Regions from separate parts of the Homo sapiens genome. Here all the other regions are linked to region 1. Evidence: promoter capture Hi-C in human tissues and cell types (Jung and others, 2019). All regions are on one chromosome and are shown on one strand. The core of a region is centred on a gene start or on the middle of the fragment in contact, and the rest is flanking DNA. Distances in the headings are between cores, read along the strand shown.

Region 1 (3,705 bases), core at 439-2,938:
CAGGATGTGTTTACATGCATTATCTCATTTAATCTGTAAAACCACCATGTGAGGGAGAAACTGAATTATCCCCATTTTCAGGATAAGGAAAAGGAGGGACTGGGAATGTGAACTCAGGAAGTGTGACTCCATCGGGTAGACTGCTCAGGCTGCAGATGTAAAGGTTTTACACGTAGGCTTTTCCAGATCTCAGCTTCTGAAAGGCGGAGGGACCGTTTGGACGGGAGCAGGGCCTCCTCTTCCAAGCACCCTGTGCCTTTAAGAGTCGCCCCCTCCCTCCAGGGATGCTCCAATTTCTTTCTCCCCACCACCCCCACCCCGCCCCCCGCGCCGCGGAGCCGCACCTCGGTCCTTCCTCCCCGCCCCACACCCTCAAGCTCGGCTCTTGGCCTTCGCTCGTCCAGAAGTGGGTGAGCTGTACCGCCAGAGGCGCATTCTCCTAGCCCCAAACCATGCCCGCTACGCCCCAGCGGAATGCCACCTTAAAGACCCTAATCCGGGCACCTCCCAGCTCCTGCTTCCCAAGGGCGAGGCCTCAGCGCCCCCTCCCATCGCCCATGCTCACGACGCCGTGAAGGTGACCTCCCCCAGGGGCGGCACACGCCCAGTGGTGCCCGAACTGGCTCACACGTGGTGAGCCGGGAGCGCGCGGCCCCTCCCCGCCACGCGCCTCGTGCCGGCCACCCGGCCACGCCCCCAGGACTGGCTCCGCCCCGTGCCCCTGCACGCTTCTCCAGGCTTGGGTGGGGCGACGCGCCCAAGTCGGGCACCGGGCAGGCTACGGGGTGGGGTAGGACCTGGGAATGGCGCACCCACGCATCCTCGAATGTCGCCTGCGGTTTGTGAAAAGCGGGAAGTCCGCCCAGCTCAGGACCTTTGGCTGGCAGGCGAGGTGCCCCGCGGCCCTTGGTGCTGAGCAGGGGAGAGACAGCTGGGACCGCGAGCCTGGGAATCGAATCCTAGTCTGCGTGTCCTCGGTGCTTCCTATTTGGAAACTGGGCATCATATTATCATATTCCCTTCTCCCTCCGGATTCTTATGGAGCTTCGAACGAGATTAAATATACATATATATGAGAAAGGGATTTGTTCACTAGGTCCAAAAGCATTTGCTGGTCCCATATGTGGTCGGACCCTGTGTGTAGTAGGCGGGGGGCAACATCTACGACAACCTGAGTTCGTCCCCTTAAGAAGCTTTCCTGAGTCTTGGGCCCCCCAAATTCTCTTCTGGGATGGTCCGAAAAGACGTCCCTGAAAGAGGAAAGGGCGGAAATCCTACCTGACGGCAGGTGTCTCGGAATGAGCTAAAATTTAAAAGGCAACGCGGGGCAGGGACAAGCGTCCAGCGTCAGATGGAAGCAGGCTCGCGTCCCCTACCCTTCCTCCAACCCCTAACCTAAGAAAAGAAACCGATCTCGCCGGTCTCCCCCAATCCTAGCCGCGAGACCGCCCAGCCCCGCAGCCCGAGCCCCGCCCCGCTCCGGCGGCCAGCGATTGGGAGATGCAAATACCGGCTTCTCTGCCCAGCAACGGGTGACGCGGCGCCCGAGCGCGAGGCGGGGCCCGGCCGCAGCCCAAGCGGGCACCTCGGTGTTTACACGGGGCGGCCCCGCGCGCGCCGCAGCGGCCCGCAGACGGCGAGGGGGAGGGGTGGTGCGCGCGCCGGCGGGGCCGCGCGGGGAGAAAGACACTGAAAGGCGTCGGCGGCCGGGCGGGGAGCGGCGCGCGCGGGCCGCGGCGGAGCCAGAGGCTGCAGGAAGAGCCCGCGGGGGCCCGGAGGGTGCGATTCCTCGGCCCCCGCAAAACAATGTGTGTTGTGAGCCAGGACGCAACTTGCCGGAGGCGGCGGGGGCGCGCCGAGCCCGCCTGAGACCGCGCTGACCTTCTCCCCCCGCCGTCCGTTGGGCCCGAGCGCCCAGCTCCTCGCTCCCCAGTTCGCGGGGGCCGGGCCGAGCCGCGGGGCGGGGCCGCCCCTCCGTCGCCGCTGCCTCCTCCCCCACCCCCAGCCGCGGAGGATGCGGACGGCCCCCGGCGGCGTCTAGCGGCCCCGGGCCCAGGCGCGATGGTGCAGCAGCGGGGCGCGAGGGCCAAGCGGGACGGCGGGCCGCCGCCCCCGGGACCCGGGCCGGCCGAGGAGGGGGCGCGCGAGCCCGGCTGGTGCAAGACCCCGAGCGGCCACATCAAGAGGCCGATGAACGCATTCATGGTGTGGTCGCAGCACGAACGGCGGAAGATCATGGACCAGTGGCCCGACATGCACAACGCCGAGATCTCCAAGCGCCTGGGCCGCCGCTGGCAGCTGCTGCAGGACTCGGAGAAGATCCCGTTCGTGCGGGAGGCGGAGCGGCTGCGGCTCAAGCACATGGCGGATTACCCGGACTACAAGTACCGGCCGCGCAAAAAGAGCAAGGGGGCGCCCGCCAAGGCGCGGCCCCGCCCCCCCGGTGGTAGCGGTGGCGGCAGCCGGCTCAAGCCCGGGCCGCAGCTGCCTGGCCGCGGGGGCCGCCGAGCAGCGGGAGGGCCTTTGGGGGGCGGGGCGGCGGCGCCCGAGGACGACGATGAAGACGACGACGAGGAGCTGCTGGAAGTGCGCCTGGTCGAGACCCCGGGGCGGGAGCTGTGGAGGATGGTCCCGGCGGGACGGGCCGCTCGGGGACAAGCGGAGCGCGCCCAAGGGCCGTCGGGCGAGGGGGCGGCCGCCGCCGCCGCCGCCTCCCCGACACCGTCGGAGGACGAGGAGCCGGAGGAAGAGGAGGAGGAGGCGGCAGCGGCTGAGGAAGGTGAAGAGGAGACGGTGGCGTCGGGGGAGGAGTCGCTGGGCTTTCTGTCCAGGCTGCCCCCTGGCCCGGCCGGCCTGGACTGCAGCGCCCTGGATCGCGACCCGGACCTGCAGCCTCCCTCGGGCACGTCGCACTTCGAGTTCCCGGACTACTGCACCCCCGAGGTTACCGAGATGATCGCGGGGGACTGGCGCCCGTCTAGCATCGCAGACCTGGTTTTCACCTACTGAGCCCACCGTCAGCGGGGCGCGCACGCCCCCAAACCAGCTGTTTACATACAGGAATCAGGTATTGGGGCCCCTCGGAGGCCGAGGCTGGCACCCCATCTCCCGCGCAGCCTGCCCCCTCCTGGACGTGCCCATCCCCCCTCAGATCCAGACATGCCCCTCCCCCGCAGACACACCCCAAGGCAGCCCAACCCCCACCCCTTCCCCGACACCCAAGCCCCTCCCCACGTCGCCCCCTCCTGCACAGCCACCAGCAGCCAGCCCCCTCCGATACACCTCCCGTCCTCTCCTACAGACCTGCACCCCTCCCCCCTTTTGCACACGCCCCTCCTCGTGGCCGGAGGACCCGCCCCCTCCTTTGCTCCGGAATCTCTCCTCCCTCGCCCGGCCCGCCTTCTCTGGGTTAGGGGGGCGATGCGGCCGGGTGGCAACGCACGCGCCTCCTGCGCCCCTCCCTTCCCTGGGGGGAGGGGCGCACCCCTTTTATCCCCGGAGCGCTAGGGCCCGCCCCTCCGCTGGGGCCCACCCCCTTCGTGCGCATGCTTAATGCTTCTGGGGAGGAGGGGGCTGGTCCCAGCGGAGCCGCACTCTTCGCCCGCTCCGGGCAAAAGCGGGGGCGAGTGTAGAGCGATCCTGGGAAATCCTTTGATCCGGGAGCCCTAGGTTTCCTCTCCAGCCAACGGGGCGTCGCTGCCTTAA
Region 2 (3,705 bases), core at 350-2,849, 190 kb after region 1:
ATAAAAACTCCTCTTGCCCTTAGCTAGTCCCTCCTTCTAATCTCTTATGTTCAGTTGTTATTTTTCAATTTGGCAACTAAAAAGAAAACTAGAGGCTTAGTAACAGTCCAATACCAGAAAACTATACAAACAAGTTTGCTTAGTCATTTCTGCTAATGTATTTTTATTGATGAATTTCCTAGTATCAGAAATGGAAAAGATCATTCTAGAACTTTAAGTCAATTTTTGAACTGTAATATAATTAGTTCTTTTTAACCCTAATGTTTATTAGTCTCCATCTTAAAAGGAAAAAAAAAATCTCCTTCTCATCCCTAAATGAACCATAGCAAATGAACAAGATCTCATCATCATCCCGACAGGACAAAGATTTCTATAGCAAAGAATGAGGAATGTGCTTAGATTGCACTGACTGCATGGTTTAGGACTGCTTGTTTAGAGGAAAAGCAGCTATACAGGAAGACACCTTTTATGCACTGCTGCAGAGAATGAACTCTTTTTCCAAGCAATCAGGCAACATAAACTGGTAAGAGACAAACAAGACTTGTGGAACTCAGCGAGACCTTAAATATGTATACTTTTCTACCTTGCTACAGAAGCAAAGAGAAAAATTCAGTCAAACTTGCCCATTTCCCTTTACAAAAGGGGCACTGATTAGAAGGCCAACTTAATACAAAAAAGCACAAGTAGCTAATGTTACCTGAATTACTTATTTCAAATGTCCATACTTAACCTTAATTTCTTTCTTCCTTTCCAATCAAGAGCAGAATGCTCATACATCAAGCATTTACTGAACGTTTACTATGTACCAGGAAATGTGTGCCTGACTGCCAGAAAGGCATTCTTTCTCTTGGTCCTGGAGAAAGTATCTCTGCCCTCAGACAAAGAAAACAGACCATTACAATCTCAAGTGATCAGTGCTTGAAACAATTAAGTCATGGTGGTGTACAGACGTTGAAGGGTATTTAAACTATCACCAACCCATCATTCATTCAACAAATATTTATGGAGTACCTAAAATGGGGAAAAACTGTAAGAGAAAAAAAAAACTGCACTTAAAGTACGCACAGGAATTATTCAGATGGAAAACATTAAAACAAGAAATTGCAAAGCGTAACACTTTAAAGCAAGTTAAGAATTTTAAAGACCTATAATTTTGCACCCTAAAATGACCAAAGGCTGGCACATTTTGTTATCTTCTATAAGAAACACATCATTGGATGCCACATGCAACGTGGCATCAGGTGTAAAAAAGCACCTGATGTGCTTTTTTTGCACATCAGGTCAGCAACCTTTTTATATCTGATTTGGAGACTATTAGTTTACTCGACTGTTACCATTTTGTGCTTAAAACAAACAGTATCATTAATTCACAAGCTTTGGAATTCTTTCTCTTTATTTTCTTTTCTCTACTTCCAACACTAATCAGTTCCTTGTTGCCCAAGCTGGAGTGCAGTGGCACAATCGTAGCTCACTGCCACTTCAAATTCCTGGGCTCAAGTAATCCTCCCACCTCAGCCTCCCAAGTAACTGAGGCTACAGGCATGTGTCACCACACCTGGCCCACTCATCTTTAAATAAGACAGAGAAGTAATTATAGCCAAAAGGGAATAGAAAATGCAAACCCAGAGATATAAGCAAGCAAGGAAGCCTGGAAAGCCTTTGTTGATCCTGAAAATTAGAATTTTGTTCTCACATAAACCAAAGCCCAGGGCTCTCACAAGACAAAAAGTCTAATAGGAGGCCCTCTTCATAAGGTGGGACTTCAGAGGCATACTTCCTAATGGTGAGAGTGACTAGGGAGTGGAAGATCCAGGGAGGAATTAAAGCCCTACTGAAGGGAATATCATATCTTAAGCTTGTTTTAAGGTGGTCTCTGGATTAGTGCCCATGCATACCTGATATAAGCAAGCTCTCCATGGAGGAAAGTACCTTACTGTGGGCCTCAAATGATCACTACAAATATCTATTTTTATTTTTATTATTTTTTATTTTTTTGAGACAGAGTCTCGCTCTGTCACCCAGGCTGGAGTACAGTGGCCTGATCTCAGCTCACTGCAAGCTCTGCTTCCTGGGTTCACGCCATTCTCCTGCCTCAGCCTCCCGAGTAGCTGGGACTACAGGAGTCCGCCACCACGCCCGGCTAATTTTTTTTTTTTTTTTTTTTTTAAGTAAAGACGGGGTTTCACCGTGTTAGCCAGGACGGTCTCGATCTCCTGACCTCGTGATCCACCCGCCTTGGCCTCCCAAAGTGCTGGGATTACAGGTGTGAGCCACCGCACCCAGCCAATTATTTATTTTTAAATACAATGTCCTAGCAGATCTCAAAAAACAAGAGGAAAAATATAGTGAAATCGTTGGATATACTTTTTTTTTTTTTTTTTTTTGCCACAAAGTCTTGTTCTGCCACCCAGGTTAGAGTGCAGTGGCACGATCTCAGTTCATTGCAACCTCTGCCTCCCAGGTTCAAGTGATTCTCCTGCCTCAGCCTCCAGAGTAGCTGGGACTACAGGTGCATGCCACCATGCCCGGCTAATTTTTGTATTTTTAGTAGTGAGGGGGTTTTGCCATGTTTTGGCCAGGCTGGTCTTGAACTTCTGACCTCAAGTGACCCGCCCATCTTGGCCTCCCAAAGTGCTGTGATTATAGGCGTAAGCCACCGTGCCCAGCCAGTTTGATATACTTTTAATTGGTACTAGCAGAAAAGAGAATGGGATAAAGGCAGTAACTGAAGACAGTTGAAAATATCCCAGAAGCAATCAGACACAATCAAATTCCAGAAGCAAACAATTTCCAAACAAGATCAATAAAAAGAAATCCAAAACCAAACATATAATTACAAAATAGCAGGAAAAAACAAAGATGAGTTGGGTGTAATGGCACAGGCCTATAGTCCCAGCTATTTGGGAGGCTGATACAGGAAGATTGCTTGTGCCCAGGAGTTGGAGGCCAGCCTGGGCAAAACAGCAAGACCTTGTCTCAAACAAAAACAAAAAACTAAAGACAAGCAAGTACAGAAAAAGGCAGATTATATTCAAAGAGCAACATTAGAACAGCTGATTTTTCAAAACCAACAATGAAGCCAAGTAGTTTAATACCTGCAGTGTGCTGAAAAAAATAAATAGCCGCCAAATTAAAATTCTGTTATCAAGCAAATGTCTCTAAAGAAAAAAGAAAAATAATCCCATTTTGGAAGGTCTGAGTTGAAAGAAAAAATAAAGAGCAAAAAAGAGGAAAATTTACAGACAGCTCCAAACAAACACTGATTATACAAAAGAATAACAATACCTTGAGGAGCTTTAAAACATAGAATACATAACAATAAAAACACAGTGTATTGAGGAGATTTCAAAGTATTCTTTCTAAAGGTCTTTTATTATATGAAAAGAAGATAAAATTATAATATCAGGTTTTGCTAAGTTATAGCTGCAAGTCACAAGATGTATGACAACTAATTACAGAATAAAAATAGCATATATTTCCAAACCAGAAAGAGGGAAAAGTAAAATCATAAAAAGAATCCAAAAGAATGTTAAGAAGGGAGAAGAAAAAAATCTAGAACATAAGAAGCATAGGGGAAGAAAGTTGAATTGGAATATGATTAATTATATTAAATATAAGTGGAATAAATTATCCAGGTAAAAGACAAAGACTATCATATCAGACTGGATTAAAAAAGAAATCCAAATGAACCAGAATAATCCAAAC
Region 3 (3,705 bases), core at 634-3,133, 130 kb before region 1:
CTGAGCCTTTGGTTTGGAAACCTTATAGCCACAGGTGGCGAGGAAATTTAAGAGTGCTTGGGTGGCTTGATTGCACAAGGTTTCTGAACGGGCAGCTAAAATTAAATCATCCATGTACCAAAGGACAAGAGTGTCCAGGTATGAGAACTGGCTCAAGTCTTAGGCTAATGCCTGGCCAAATAGATGGGGGTTATCCCTGAACCCTTGGGGTAAAACAGTCCGGGTGAGTTGAGATGTTGGGTTCGAAGGATCTTCAAAGGTAAACAAGAATTGAAGGTCAGGATGTACAGGGATGCAGAAAAAGGCATCCTTAATGTCCAGGACTATAAACCACTCTGCTTCCTCTGGTGTTTGGGAAAGCAGAGTATACGGGTTAGGTATAGGTGGGTATGGAGCGACAATGGCCTCATTGATAATCCTGAGATCTTGCACTAACCTCCACTGTCCGCTGAGTTTCTGTACTCCTAAAATTGGAGTATTGCAGGGGCTATTGCATGGTTTTACTAGGCCTTGGGCTTTTAGGTCCTTAAAAATATTTTAGAGTCCTTGTTGGGCCTTGGGTGTAAGGGGGTACTGCCTTTGGTAGGGAAAGGAGGTGAAATCCTTTAGTTTAACTCAAACAGAATGGGCATTCTTTGCTCGTCCATGTTGTCCTTCTGTTGCCCAGACTTCAGGATTAATTCCTTCCTCAAGCAGGGGGACAATAAACGGGTGTTCTTTCTCCTATGTTCAGGTGTATAATGGCCCCTGCTTTCGCTAGAATGTCTCTCCCTAACAAGGGAGTGGGGCTTTCAGGCATAATTAGAAAAGCATGTGAAAAGTATAAAGTTCCCCAGTCACAACTTAGTGGCTGGGAGAAGTATCTAGTGACTGGCTGTCCTAGGACCCCTTGGATAGTGACAGATCTGGAGGACAGTTGTCCGGGACAGGACAGTAAGACTGAGAAGGCTGCGCCAGTGTCCAGGAGACAGTTAGCCTCCTGGCTCTCAATGGTCAAGCATACCCGGGACTCTGTGAGGGTGATGGCATGGGCTGGAGCTTGCCCTGGGCACCCTCAGTCCTTCTGCTGGATCATCTGGTTAGTGGCTTCTGACTCAGAGGACCTTCGTCCCCTGGGGCAGTGGGCCTTCCAGTGATTCCCTTGACATAAGGGGCATGGATGAGAGGGTGGCTTATTTCTACTTGGACAATCTTTTTTAAAGTGTCCTTGTAGACCGCACTGGAAGCAAGCCCTATTAGGCATTCGATTTGCCCAGTTTTTCCCTTTTCCAAAGCCTCCTCGACTAGGAGTTCTTAACTCATAGCACAAAATTCATGCTATATGCTCAATACATAATCACTGAATGGCTGAAAAGTACTGAACAAATTACTGCTAGATAAAATACTCCAACACAGCAATAAAGTTAATTATGGCATTTCCTTTAAAAATGCTGTTTACCACTTTTTGCAATTTCTAGGCACCTAATTATAGTAATGAGGTCCCATCTAATCCAAATATCTTTCTGTGACAGTATCTGGAAGAATGTTGGAATTTCTGAAAGCTGTAGAAGTAGCCGTTGATGATTAAACTCTTATCACAACATAGTCAGGGAAAGAGTAAGGTTAGGAATTAGTATTGTATATAGCTTACTATGGATACCAGTAACCAGAGCCCTTATCCCCCTCAGTTAGTAGCTGTATACCTTGTAATCCTGGAGTGGCACAGAAAATAAAGATTGGTGAGGCTTACAGAATCTCATCAAATCATATTTATCATATGAAGACAGCTAAGTTAATGGGTGCAGGAAATTTAGCCGCACGAAGATCAGATGTGTGAATATTTATTAAGGGCTAGGTGCAGTGGCTGGGATTACAGGCGTGCACCATCATGCCCAGCTAATTTTTGTATTTTTAGTAGAGATGGGGTTTCACCACGTTGGCCAGTCTGGTCTTGAACTCCTGACCTCAGGAGATCCACCCACCTCAACCTCCCAAAGTGCTGGGATTACAGGCATGAGCCACCACGCCTGGCTTGTTTTTTTGTTTTTGTTTTTGTTTTAATTTTCTAAGTCTTTCTTGCTGAGGGTCTGTGGATCAAGGAAATACTTATTCAAAAAACAGGTATTAAGTTCCTGTTAATAAATACAAGAAGAAAAGTGCTAACTGAATCACCTGTGGGTTTAAAGACCACCATCAAAGCTACAATTTTGGAGGACAGCCAACTGCTCCCTTGTTCTGTAATTCAATTTTACTCATTGCTGTAAGGGAGTTGGTTCCATTTCTAAATAAATTAAACAGAGATAACCCAAGGATTAGATGAATATAAGTCCAGCTATGCAGGAAATCGTTTGCCACCTTAGTGCACAATAAGAACTAAGAAGTTGGACTCCAGATTAGTGTATGGGATTTCTTTTAGCTTTTTCTAACTAGAATCAAGAAAGATGAGATATTTGACTGTTCTAAACCTTTACTTCAGCCAAGTATGGTGCTCTGGAAGCTTCTCAACCCCACTCCCACTGCCTCCATGTTCAAGACCATCAAATAAGAGGGAATTTCCTCTCCAAGTAGATGTCCATCTTCTACAACATTTTTTCCTACGTCTGATAGATACACTCTAGCAGAACTCCAGTAGCATATTTCACCCAGGATACAAAGGTGTATTTGTCAGCACCAGTCCTGCTGATGTTTTTCCTCAAATTCTGCATTGTTTCTTTCCAAATCTCAAAACCTCCCAGAAAATCCTTCTTGTCTTTTAAGGCTCAGATAAAAATAAGACCTCCTCTGTGATGTCTTCCTAACTCCTCTGATAGACTTGATTAATTACTATTTTGAACCCCCACAGCTCTTTCCATTTGTATTTGTAACACTAATCCCATTCGTGTGTGTGTGTGTGTGTGTGTGTGTGTGTGTGTGTGTCTGTGTATGAATTTTTTTAGCTTTTATTTTAGGTTCAGGAGAACATGTGCAGGTTAGTCACATAGGTAAATTGTATGTCACAGGGATTTGGTGTACAGGTTATTTCATCACCCAGGTAATAAGCATAGTACCTGATAGGTAGTTTGTTGATTCCCACCCTCCTCCTACCTCAAGTAGGCCCCGGTGTTTGTTTCCTTTTTTGTGTCCAGGTGGACTCAATGTTTAGCTCCCATTATAAGTGAGAACACGTGGTATTTGGTTTTCTGTTCCTGTGTTAACTCACTTGGGATACAGGCCTCCAGCTCCATCCATGTCCCTGCAAAAAACATGATTTCATTTTTTATGGCTGTGTAGTATTCGATGGTGTATATGTACCATATTTTATTTATCCAGTGTACCATTGATGGGCATTTAGGTTGATTCCGTGTCTTTGCCATTGTGAATAGTGCTGCAATGAACATACACGTGCATGTGTCTTTATGGTGGAATGATTTATATTCCTTTGGCTATATACCCAATAATGGAATTGCTGGGTCGTATGGTAATTCTGTTTTAAGTTCTTTGAGAAATTGCCAAACTGTTTTCCACAATGGCTGAACTAATTTACACTCCCACCAGCAGTCTAAAAGCATTCCCTTTTCTCCACAACCTCGCCAGCATCTGTTATTTTTTCACTTTTTAATAATAGCTATTCTGACTGGTGTGAGATAGTATCTCATTGTGGTTTTGATTTGCATTTCTCTAATGATAAGTGATGTTGATCTTTTTTTTTCTTTCAAATGCTTCTTAGCCGAGTATATATCTTGTTTT

Evidence for each region. Contacts are between HindIII fragments. The study calls those that stand out against the background at their distance.
Region 2: a fragment that was not itself captured here is called in contact with the fragment with the promoter of SOX12 in region 1 in 2 of the 25 tissues and cell types used here (pancreas and spleen).
Region 3: a contact is called between a fragment that was not itself captured here and the fragment with the promoter of SOX12 in region 1, in 1 of the 25 tissues and cell types used here (lymphoblastoid cells).

The regions. Positions count from the first base shown.
Region 1 is chr20:323,864-327,568 of GRCh38, forward strand. It overlaps SOX12 (SRY-box transcription factor 12), which reads left to right and starts at 1,689. Exons shown (of 1, transcript NM_006943.4): 1 at 1,689-3,705. The coding sequence starts at 2,062. The coding sequence ends at 3,009. NRSN2-AS1 (NRSN2 antisense RNA 1) reads right to left here and starts at 1,389. Exons shown (of 3, transcript NR_109990.1): 1 at 1,279-1,389. RefSeq lists silencers at 559-818, 1,379-1,688, 1,799-2,178, 2,249-2,308, 2,329-2,818 and 2 more. The HindIII fragment of the contact is 5,512 bases long and covers 363-3,705 here.
Region 2 is chr20:516,570-520,274 of GRCh38, forward strand. The region is part of intron 2 of CSNK2A1 (casein kinase 2 alpha 1); the gene reads right to left. Among named protein-coding and RNA genes, the nearest start is that of CSNK2A1, 25 kb to the right of the region's middle. The HindIII fragment of the contact is 4,623 bases long and covers 1-3,705 here.
Region 3 is chr20:192,889-196,593 of GRCh38, forward strand. No RefSeq gene overlaps it. Among named protein-coding and RNA genes, the nearest start is that of DEFB128, 5.0 kb to the left of the region's middle. The HindIII fragment of the contact is 6,858 bases long and covers 1-3,705 here.